2 separate regions of the Homo sapiens genome follow, and region 1 is linked to region 2. The links are contacts of gene promoters, found by promoter capture Hi-C in human tissues and cell types (Jung and others, 2019). All regions are on one chromosome and are shown on one strand. Each heading gives the region's core, a stretch centred on a gene start or on the middle of the fragment in contact. The rest is flanking DNA. Distances are from core to core; before and after follow the strand shown.

The links. Contacts are between HindIII fragments. The study calls those that stand out against the background at their distance.
Region 1: a fragment that was not itself captured here is called in contact with the fragment with the promoter of PTP4A3 in region 2 in 1 of the 25 tissues and cell types used here (H1 embryonic stem cells).

What each region holds. Positions count from the first base shown.
Region 1 is chr8:141,183,763-141,189,118 of GRCh38, forward strand. It overlaps DENND3 (DENN domain containing 3), which reads left to right. Exons shown (of 23, transcript NM_001352890.3): 18 at 1,377-1,516; 19 at 5,224-5,356. Among named protein-coding and RNA genes, the nearest start is that of DENND3-AS1, 56 kb to the left of the region's middle. RefSeq lists an enhancer at 640-1,594. The HindIII fragment of the contact is 5,635 bases long and covers 1-5,356 here.
Region 2 is chr8:141,390,583-141,396,019 of GRCh38, forward strand. It overlaps PTP4A3 (protein tyrosine phosphatase 4A3), which reads left to right and starts at 1,439. Exons shown (of 6, transcript NM_032611.3): 1 at 1,439-1,502. ASTILCS (antisense transcript of PTP4A3, liver carcinoma survival associated) reads right to left here and starts at 2,039. Exons shown (of 2, transcript NR_187488.1): 1 at 1,826-2,039; 2 at 1-569. RefSeq lists an enhancer at 511-1,131. The HindIII fragment of the contact is 9,767 bases long and covers 1-3,590 here.

The DNA of each region.
Region 1 (5,356 bases), core at 1,379-3,878, 210 kb before region 2:
AAAAAGAAAAGTTTATGCTTGAAAGTGCAACAGGCTCCAGGGCAACGCTCACTCTAGCTGAAGATGGCAAAAGCTGTCCTGGCGGGGGTGCAGGTGTTGAAACAGGAGTGGAGTCCAGGCCGCCACCGCCCAGGCAGAGGGAGCAGCGTGCTTTCCGCCAGGGGTCTTAGTTCCAGCTGTGGCTGGGCCTCCCTGCGGCCTGTGCTTTCGGCCCCTTGAGGTTCTGGTCTGTTTTGCTTTCTGCTGGAAGCCTCATCATCTCTGTCCCTCTCCTGGGCCTGCTTCTTGGGCTGTCTCAGAGGCTTCTTGCCATCTTCATGGCCGGACACGGCGCCTACAGCCTCTTCCCCAGACCCTGCCACAGGAAATGGACAGAAGACACTTTTGAGAGGGTGAAAATGTAAGCTGCAGACTGGGAAGGATCTTTAAAATGGGTGCTGCTAAAATCATTGCTTTTAATGTAGTCAGATTCACCAGTCTTTTGCTTTATGGTATTTTTATATGTCATACGTAATTTATGAATACAGCACCATGGAGTCAGTTAGGGGCTCATATCCAGAACACCGGAACAGCTGGCCGGGCGTGCCTGTGGTCCCAGTGAGGTGGGAGGGTGGCCAGAGCCCTGGACTCGGAGCCTGTGGTTTGCTGTGATCGCACCTGTGAACACTGCTGCACTCCAGCCCGGGCAACATGGCAAGACCTCGTCTATTAAAAAGTAAAAAAAAATAAAAATAAAAAAAAATAACAGCCACAAACTAGGGAGAACGAAAAACAGACACTTCCCACAAGAGGGCATGGGGATGGCCAGTTCAAGCCATCAGGCTCATTAGCAATTAGAGAAATGCAATTAAACCACAATTTAAAAGCCAAAAGCTCCACACCCTTAGAATGGCCGAAATTAAAAAGATGGACGGACGCCAGCAAGTGTTGGGAAAGACGCGGAGCCCGCTGCACATGAGGGTGTGGGGGGCACCATGGCCCCTGCCGCCGTCTCTCCAGCTGCCCTCCCTCCCTGCCTCCCTCCCTCTGTGTCCACCTGCTCCTCTTCCAGTTCCCTCTGCCTGGCTGTTTCCTCTAGTGAATGCTCACTCAGCTGGCAGGTCCTGGCTTAGCAAAGCTCACAGGCATTCGGCTCTGCATCTGCCTGCGGCTCTGACCCTGTCTTTGTGGCCCTCTCACCAGCCAGCTGCCCCCCTTGACTCTGAGCTCCCAGAGGGCAGGGAAGCCTCTGCCTGGGCACGTCTTTGTACGTACAGCACCTAACATGGGCCTGGCGCTTAGGAGGGCCCAGGAGGCACCTGAGTAAGGGCACCAGTCACCTGCTGCTACAGCAGAAGTGTTTCCTCCTAACAGTTTTGTGCTGCTCTCCTCTTTAGGGCATCTTGACCCAGCCGAAAAAGTTGAAGATGCTCACCCCAAGTTATGGTGTGCTCTGAGCGAAGGCAAGGTGACCGTGTTCAATGCTTCTTCATGGACCATCCACCAGCACTCCTTTAAAGTGGGCACTGCAAAAGTGGTGAGTACACGAAGCGTCAGGAAAGAAGCCTCTGAATTCACGTGATTTCTGAAACCCAAGTGTGTTCATCCATATTCGACAGTAGGATACAAGCTATTCCACAGCCTCACTCGGTTTCTGTAAACAGGGGGTCTTAACTTTCACCTGGAGTTTTCAAATTAAATGTAAGCTTGTTCCAAACTTCTACTTACACGTCCTTATTGAAGGAGAAGATAATGGCTTTGACTTTCTCATCTAAAAACAGATTTCAGGCCCCCATCTAAAAATAGATTGCAGGGGCTCACACCTCTAATCTCAGCACTTTGGGAGGCTGAGGTGGGTGGATTGCCTTGAGCCCAGGAGTTTGAGACCAGCCTGGGCAACAGAGTGAGACCCCATCTCTACAAAAACTACAAAAATTAGCCGGGCATGGTGGAGCGTGCCTGTAGTCCCAGTTACTTGGGAAGCTGAGGTGGTAGGATCGCTGAGCCTGGGAGGTCGAGGCTGCAGTGAGCCAAGATCGCGCCACTGCACTCCAGCCTGGGTGACAGAGCCATACCCTGTCTCAAACAGACAAATAATAATAATAATAAAATAATAAAAATCGACGTCAGTTCTGTGAAGTGGAGCCATTGTGGTCTCTGCCTGCTTATTACAGGCTTCACACACTTTGGGAACAATTTCCTTCTTTTTTTTCTTTTTTGAGACAGGGTCTTGCTCTGTTGCCCAGGCTGGAGTGCAGTGGTTCAGTCATGGCTCACTGCAGCCTCGACCTTCTGGGCTCAAGGGATCCACCTCGGTCTCCTGAGTAACTGGGACTACAGGTGCATGCTACCATGCCTGGCTAATTTTGTATTTTTTGTAGAGATGAGGTTTTGCCACGCTGCCCAGGCTGGGAACGATGTCTTCCATCCTGTACTGCAGCACTAAGGTTCCCAGGGACCAGGGCCTTAAAATGAACCTGCAGTGTTTCCTGGGAACCCTGGTGTTTCCTGGTGGCACAGTGGTTACTGGGTCTCTTTTGGAGCAAAAGAGGAGACAGCTGCCTCTGCAGTGACTTCAGTGTTATCCACCTGTCCCCACGTGCCAGGTGGCAGAGACCAGGGCCCAGCAAAACTCAGTGTCCACTCGTCACACATTATTCCTCTCACTTAGAGCAAGCTTGTCCAACCTGTGGCCTGCAGGCTGTACGTGGCCCAGGACGGCTTTGAATGAGGCCCAACACAAATTTGTAAACTTTCTTAAAACATATGTTGAGTTTTTTTTGCAATCTTTTTCCTTCTAGCTCATCAGCGATCGTTAATGTTAGTGTATTTTATGTGTGGCCCAAGACAATTCTTCTTCCACTGTGGCTCAGGGAAGCCACAAGAGTGCACACCCCTGATTTAAAGCAAGTTTGAATTGTTTCTGATAATTTTAAAACAAGTGCAACTGTTAATACATTTTTAGTAGTGTGTCCTTGGCAGTGCCATGGTGTGTCGCTTCTTCCATGACCATGGTATCTTGAGTGTGGAAGCTGGGATTCCTGCCCTGCTCATCCCTCCAGGCCCCCAGCGGCCCCTCCTGCCTGCAGACCATCATTTCTTGGGGATTTTCCCTGTTTGCCCGTCAGCGCTGTGAGCTGCCCCTCCCTGCGGATCTGTGTGCGCTTCCCTGTCGCCCGAGAGGCCGCTGAGTAGCTCCCCGTGCTCTGAGACCCCACACTCCCCCGCACCGTGGCCTGCGCGCCCTTTGTCCATGTTTCTCCTGTTCTTGCTCATGGATTTGCAGATGACGTTCACATTTAAATTGCATTTTATAGTTTTCAAAATATTTTCGCATCTACACTCTCCTCCTATCTGGTCACCCTCCAAGCAGCCACCCCATCATGGGATCTGCTGAGAAATCCTCATGCCTTACTCCTTGAGCATGATAGGATTTTTTTTTTTTTACATGTTTAATGTGAAAAGAACACTCCAGTGGAGTATATACCTAAGTATATATTAGGCATTGGCTGGTACCATTTTTTTTTTTTTGACAGGGTCCCTCTCCCATTGCCCGTGGCTGGAGTGTAGTGGCACAATCGCTGCTTACTGCAGCCTGGACCTCCCGAGTAGCTGGGGCTATATAGGTGCGCACCACCACACCCGGCTAATTTTTGTATTTTGAGTAGAGATGGGGTTTCACCGTGCTGCTCAGGCTGGTCTCAAACTCCTGGGCTCAAGCAGTCCTCCCGCCTCGGCCCCGCCAAAGTGCTGGGATTACAGGTGTGAGCCACTGCGCCCGGCCATGGTATCAGTTTTGATGGCTGTGTTCCCTTGTCTAAAAATAATGTGGGAAAATCCGTGGCACAGTATGTGCTTGCAAAACTGCTATAAAACAAATACTGTGAACTCAAATACATACCACCAAGAGGGTGGGACCACTCTTGAGATACCTGAATAGCAAACTTTACATGTTAGAAGGTAATAAGAGCCTGCTAAATCATTTCCCCCCATATTCAAATCATGAGCCTCAGATGATAAAGTAATAGGATCCATGATACAGTAAAAATATTGACAAAAGTCTAGTAATGCTTTAAACCAAACAACAAAAAAAGGAAAAATTAGGGAAATTATTTTTCTAAATTTAATTTTTTTCAGTTCGTTCTTAGTTATAAGCATTTCAAGGCTGGGCGCAGTGGCTCACGCCTGTAATCCCAGCACTTTGGGGGGCCGAAGCAGGAGGATTGCTTGAGTCTAGGAGTTCGAGACCAGCCTGGGCAACGTGGGGAAACCCTATCTCTACTAAAACTGCCAAACATCAGCCAGGCGTGGTGGCATCAGCCAGGCGTGGTGGCATCAGCCAGGCGTGGTGGCCCATGGCTGTAGTCCCGGCTACTCGGGGGTCTGAAGCGGGAGAATCGCTTGAGCCGGGAGGCTGAGGCTGCAGTGAGCCATGATCATGCCACTGCACTCCAGCCTGGGTGGCAGAGTGAGACTCTGTCTCAAAATAAACAAACAAACAAAAATAAAAATTCTGATTTCAAAGAGTCTAAAAGCAATCATTATGTTGACTTTGCTTAGCTTAGACAGAAACCCTGAGCGCACTCTCTAGACACTGGGAGCACTGCCAGTTCTGCTTGTTCACATACAGTCGGTCTCATCATTTGGAGATTCCGTATTTGCAAATTCGACCACCTGCTAATATTTACTTGTAACTCCCAAAACAGATACTCGTGGTATTTTCTTGGTGATCCACAGACATCCACGTGCACAGACGGGGGAAAAACTTGAGTCACCTGATATGGATTTTCTGGGCCAACAAGTGTCCTCTCCTCGGCCTGATTGGTGCCACAGTTTTCACATTTTTTGCTTTTCGTTGGTGATTTTGCCATTTAAGAAAGCCTCAAGCATGGAGCTCCCTAAGCACAAGGAGGCGGTGACGTGTCTTGCAGAGAAAATGCATGTGTGAGATGAGCTTGGTTCAGGCCGCAGTGACAGTGCTGGCGGCCGTGGGTTTCGTGTTAATGAATCAATCATACGTAGTCAATAAGGTGTCTGTGAACAGAGCACGCGGAGAACAAGGTTATGCACTGATGGGTGGATGACAACGTCAGGGCCAGAGGCTCCCAGGACCCTGAGCCGGCGTGTCCCCTAGGAGCAGTGGTTCCATATCCGCTAATTCAGCACGTGCAGTAAATGTATAGAATATGACTTCACCAGTATCGAGACTGACTGATTTCTCACGTTCCCGTGGCCTCCTGTTAGAACTGCATGGTGATGGCCGACCAGAACCAGGTGTGGGTTGGCTCGGAAGACTCCGTCATCTACATCATCAACGTCCACAGCATGTCCTGCAACAAGCAGCTCACAGCCCACTGCTCCAGTGTCACGGATTTGA
Region 2 (5,437 bases), core at 189-2,688:
GATTTGAACCCGGGTCTGCAAGGTTATGTCCTCTGAGCCATCCCCACCCCTGCCCTTAAGGACCAGGGGCCTCTGGACACCATCAGCTTGCCCACCTGTCCAGGATTTGCACGCACCTGCTCGGTGCCAGATGCTGGGCACTGGGGACAAACCAGGTGAGGTGTGGACCGTGACCTGTGTTGTCACTGATTGGGGGACTTTCTGGCAGAGTGGAGAGTGCAGTGGGCTGAGAGACAGGATGGCCAGTGGAGACTGAGCTCTCAGAGGCGGCGGCAGCTGATGGGGACCATGCAATGGGAAGGATGGAGGCCCTGGGATAGTCTGCGGTGAACTTCCAGGCAGAAGGAACAGCAGGTGCAAAGGCCTTTAGCTGGGAAGGAAACTCTGGGTTGGAGGAATAGCTTGCAGGCGCTCTGAGAGAGGCTGGCAGCCAGGTGGCAGGGAGGCAGCCCAGTCAGGTGGTCTTGGGACAGTTTAGGGTCTCTGGCCTTCACCAGTGAGGTGGTGTCTGGAGACTTTTGCAGACGAAGGCAGCTCTCACTCCCATCTTCCCGGGGTCCCTCTGGCTGCTGAGGGTGGATGGGTGGAAAAGCATCTTTCAGGGAAGTGGAGGCAGGGCTGGAGCAGTTGAACATCTGACTGGGCCAAGGGTCCAGGGACTGGCATGGAACAGGGCTGGGTGGGTGAGGCCGCCTGGGAGACCCCAGCTTGCCTCTGTTTCCCCCTGTACTGGGGCCTCCTGCGTGAACCAGCACTGGTTTTTCCAGTAACTGGAGCCACAAGCCTCCCTAGGAACGGCTGACCCATAAGAGGACGTCCTCAAGGTCCCCAAGGGCTAGAGGCTGAGATGCCGCCTTCGCCTGGGCGGGCCTCGCAGCCTGGAGGCAGGCGGTGGTGCAGCTCGGGCAGGCCCCGTCCACACGCCTCCCCGCTCTTCTGAGCACCACGCGTCCCGTGGGCTCCCTACCCGTCCTGATAACACGGCGGTCCGGGGGCCTCGAAGCCGGTCTGACCCCAAGTACCCGGGCCAGGCGGCTGCCGTCTTGTCGCCCCAGCCCATCCCCTCAGCCAGCCCGCCTGGCGGCACGGGACCTAGCCCCAGTCGACTTAGGGGGAAACTGAGAACTCCAGAAGTTTCGTGAACTCCCTGGCTTCGTCCGCATCCCGCCCTCTGCCTCTTCGCTCGGGCTTCAAAACTGCCCCTCCGACGCCCGCCTGCCCCAGGCCGACCTGGCCTAGGCGCCCGGCAGGCACAGGAGCCAAGGTCAGTCCCCGAGGCCGCCCGCGCGACCGGAGCCGCCTCCTCCCAGCCCAGGGGCGGCCTCGGGGGCGGCGGGCGCGCGGCCGCGGCGTGGGGAGCGCTCCCATTGGGCCGTGCCCCCACGTGACCCAGCGGGTCCGGCGCGCGCCCTAAGCCGGTGGAGCCGCGGCCGCGCCTGTGCGCGAGGGCGCGCGCGTCCCGAGCCCTCCACCCGTCGTGCCGGCGCCGCCCGGACCGCCAGGTCAGTCTCCTCCGCGCCCGCTCGGGGCGGGGGCGCGCGGCGCTTTGTGGAGGCGCGTGGGGGGCCGTCCGCGCGCGAGCCCGCCGCCCGCTCCGGGCACGGCTTCGGGGCCGCGCAGCCGGGAGGGCCGCCGCCTTCCCCCTGCCCGCGCGTCCCGGGACCCTGCGCCTGGCGGCCGATCCGGCGGGAACGTGGGCCTGGAGGCTGCCACGTGCCGGGGCCGAGCCTCAGGAGGCCGCTGTTTCCCCAGGCGAGCCACAGAACACCCCTGGCTGGAAGGGGGTGACCCGCTCCCGTTTCTGGGTGCGCGGGAGACCTCCTACCCTGAGTTCATCCTGCGCAGGGTCCCGCCCAGGATCTGGCTCTGCCCCCATTCACGGCTCATTTTCCTCAGCTGCACAGTTTGGGGGGCTGGAACCCCACAGCCTTCCGTGCCTCCAGGGCGGGTCGTAGATGTCAGTGGAGGTCAGGGGAAAGCAGAGCGTCAGGTCTCAGGCCGGGTGGAGTCCGCCTCAGACCATACCAGTGTTGGGACTCGGGCGGCGCCTCAGCCCTCCAAGCACACCCCGGTAGAATCAGGTCAGCAGCCTTGATCCACGTGCCTCAGGGATTAAACGGGTGACTCCTGACACGCCCCTGGGCAGCTGGTGGCCCAGGGGTGGGGTGGTGGCATGCTTAGCTCCAAGTGGGCAGAGCAGTTTCACCCTGCCGGTTCCCGGAGGGAAGCCCTTTATGAGGGAGGCTTCCCTGGCCCTCTGTGATAGCGGCTCCAAGGGCAGCGTGAGGTCCAGGCTAGCTGGTCACAGTGTGTGCCCGGGCACCCTCAGCCAAGACAGAAAGGCACGTGCTGCACCCCCTCTCTCTGCCTGCGGGCTCTGGGGTGTGCCCCGCACACGATGGTGGGTGTTGGGCATCCACCTAGTCTGTGGACCCTGGGGGCCCTGCTCCCAGGTTGGAGCAGTGTCCTCGGCTGCAGACCAGAGGAGGTCACTGAACACAGGGTGCCTGTGGCCTTGCACAGACAGAAGCCGCCTGGCAGCCCTGTGCAGAGCCGTGCTTCACTGAGTTCCTGCAATCCTCCCAAGAAGTTCGTTAACCCCATTTCTCAGATGAGGAGACTGAGGCCCACAAAGGTGGAGTTGGTGCAGCCCCTAGCCTGCGGGGCTAAGCAGAGCCTTGTTGTCCCCATCTGCAAAGGGGGCGTTGGAGCTGCTGTAAATGGGCCCCGAACCTGTCACCTGAGTGGAATTAGGCATTGGGGATCTCCCCATCACCACGCCGGCCCCCCTCACTGTGGTTACGAAGGAGGAGAAGCTGCCCTGTGTAGGAATTCCTGGGCTGTTTCCAAATAGCCCCGCTAGGGAGCTGGTCACCCCTCAACACCCCCAACGTGTTCTCCAAGCACTTACTCTGTGCCAGGCCCAATGCTGGACCTGGAGATGGGGCATGGCTGGCTGGCTGAGCGGGGCAGGTTGCGGACAGGCCCCCGCAGGCAGTCGGCGTGATGGGAGAAAATGCAGGCGGGGATGAGATGCAGCCTCCAGGTGGTTTCCTCAGCTGCCTGCTCCTCTCTGCCTTTGCCCTCCTCCCGGAAGCTTGCGCTGACCACTGGAGTAAGGCTGGGGGCCTCAGCTGGTCCCCTCTCTGTCCCAAGTAACAGCCCAGAACATGGTGAGGGTGGCTGGCTGATGCAGTCAGGCACTGGACATGGGAGGCAGGAGGAAGGCCGGGAGGTGGGCAGCTTTCTCAGACAAGTGGGCAGTTTGGATGGCGAGGAGGTCTTGGAGGCACCATGGGTGGCTGGGCTCAAAGATGACATGAGGGCATGCTTAACAGATGCTTAACCAAATCCTGAATTGGCATTGGCCAATTTCTGTGGTGTAACTACTCCCAAGCTACACAGACGTGACTTTACTGGCTGAGGACTTGGGCAGAGGTGCACACAGTCAGACTGAGAGGGGGGCATAAGCTGGTGTGAGCCCTCCCTCTCACCGCCAGGGTGGGCAGAGTGTCCGCTGGTGCCCAATGCCTATGCACGTGACCTCCTTAGGGACTTACATCCAGATGGCGGTGATACAGCTTGGGGAGGCCTCTCCCTGGTTGGCAGGTCCTGGCGAAAGGGTGAGTTAAGTGGAAAGTGTACCAGGCTGGTGTCCAGGTGGCATTTGGCCAGAGGGGCTGAGCTGGGAGCTCCTGGGCCTGGGGCTGGCAGATAGTGGTGATTTTTCGCCCCCCAAGACCTTGGGCTTGCCTTGTTCCATGAAGGTCCCAAATCTGACCAAAGGCTGTAACCAGATGGTCACTGTCCCAGACCACCCCAGGGCGCTTTCTCACCTCGAGAGCACCGTTTCTCCCCACCTCCACCCTGGCCGCCCTTGCTGTCACCTACTCCCTCTGGTCCCTGGCACCCCTCCCTGCCTGCAGTGGTGTTTCCTAGCAAGTGCAGCAGCCCGAGGCTGGGCTAGAGGCAGGAGGGCCTGGCCTCCCAGTGTCTTGCTGGATACTTGGTTTCTTGCCCCTCCGTTTCCACACCTGTAAAATGGGAGCAATGACAGGTCTTCCTGGCAGGACAGTGGTGAAGCTTGGTCACACGGGTGAACATGTGTGAGGTAAAAAAGACTTCCCATCCCTCCTTCTGACCTGGACCGGCTCGCAGGACCCATAGGCAGGGACCTGGGCAAGGTCCGAGGGCCGATGAGCCCCGTCCTCTCTGCACAGTTCAGAGTTGGGTGGGAGTGGCTGTGGGCTGCAGGAGGAGGTACTGCACTTCGCACAGTTACGTGGTCGGGTTGGCATCGCCGCCGCCTGACTTCGGCGCCCCGCGAGTTGGGTGTGTGCGGTTGGGGGCGGCCCAGAGTGTGCCCCACGCCTGCCAGTCGGGTAGGCCAGCCTCCCTGGAGAGAGGGGGGCCTCCCCAAGGTGGGACGGGGACAGGGACGGGTGCTTCCTTCCACCCAGGAGCCTGAGCAGAGGGTGGAGGGTCCTGGCAGCTACCTACGGCAGCTGAGAGCTGCGCTCTTTAGCCGAGCGGGATCAGGGCTACGTGGACACAGCCCGTGCCAGTGTGGGTGGGGCACGAGCTGTGGGTTCCGATGGCCCAGTAGGCGTTCACCTGGCAGAGAGTGTGCGCGTGTCTCCCCTCCTTGGGGCGCCTCAGGTCAGGACCCTGAGAACCTCACTTATCCTTTGAGCTGCGCCAAGGCTGTTGTACAAAAGACAGTTCAGAAAATAAGGACAGGCTGTTCCTCCCAGCCAAGGGTGTGGCCCTAAGGACCCCTAGGTGGGGCATCGCTTCCCGCCAGGCACGTGCCACTCAGTCTTGGGCTGCTTTAGTGGCAGCCTCCTGGTTTGGAAGCGGAACTGAGGGTCAGGGATGACCACATGGCTCAGGGCTCAGCTGGGGTCCTGAGAGTGGGCCCTCAGGTTTACCTTCCTCCTGGAGGGGAACTGGGGGCCATTGCCCAGTGCACCCCCACTTCCCCTTAGGTGCGTGGGCCACCCCTCCCTCCTGCAGCCCCCGTTCATCTACCCAGGATAGGTGCATGGGCCACCCCTCCCTCCTGCAGCCCCCGTTCATCTACCTGGGGAAGGTGCGTGGGCCACCCCTCCCTCCTGCAGCCCCCGTTCATCTACCCGGGGTAGGTGCGTGGGCCACCCCTCCCTCCTGCAGCCCCCGTTCATCTACCCAGTGGGGATGTCCCCTGGCTCCTCTCCTGGCATCTTCCCGGGATGTAGGGGTGCTCCCATGCCCCCCGGCTCCTCTCCTGGTGTCTTCCCCAGATGTAGGGGTGCCCTCATGTCAGGGCTTATGCTTCTAGAAGGAGTGGAAATGCAGCACAGTCATTGCTGTTGCCTGCCAAGGGCCACCCTGGCTGGGGACAGATGGGGCTGCCTCCCCTCTCCCACCCTGTCCTGGCCACCTGCCCCCGCCAACC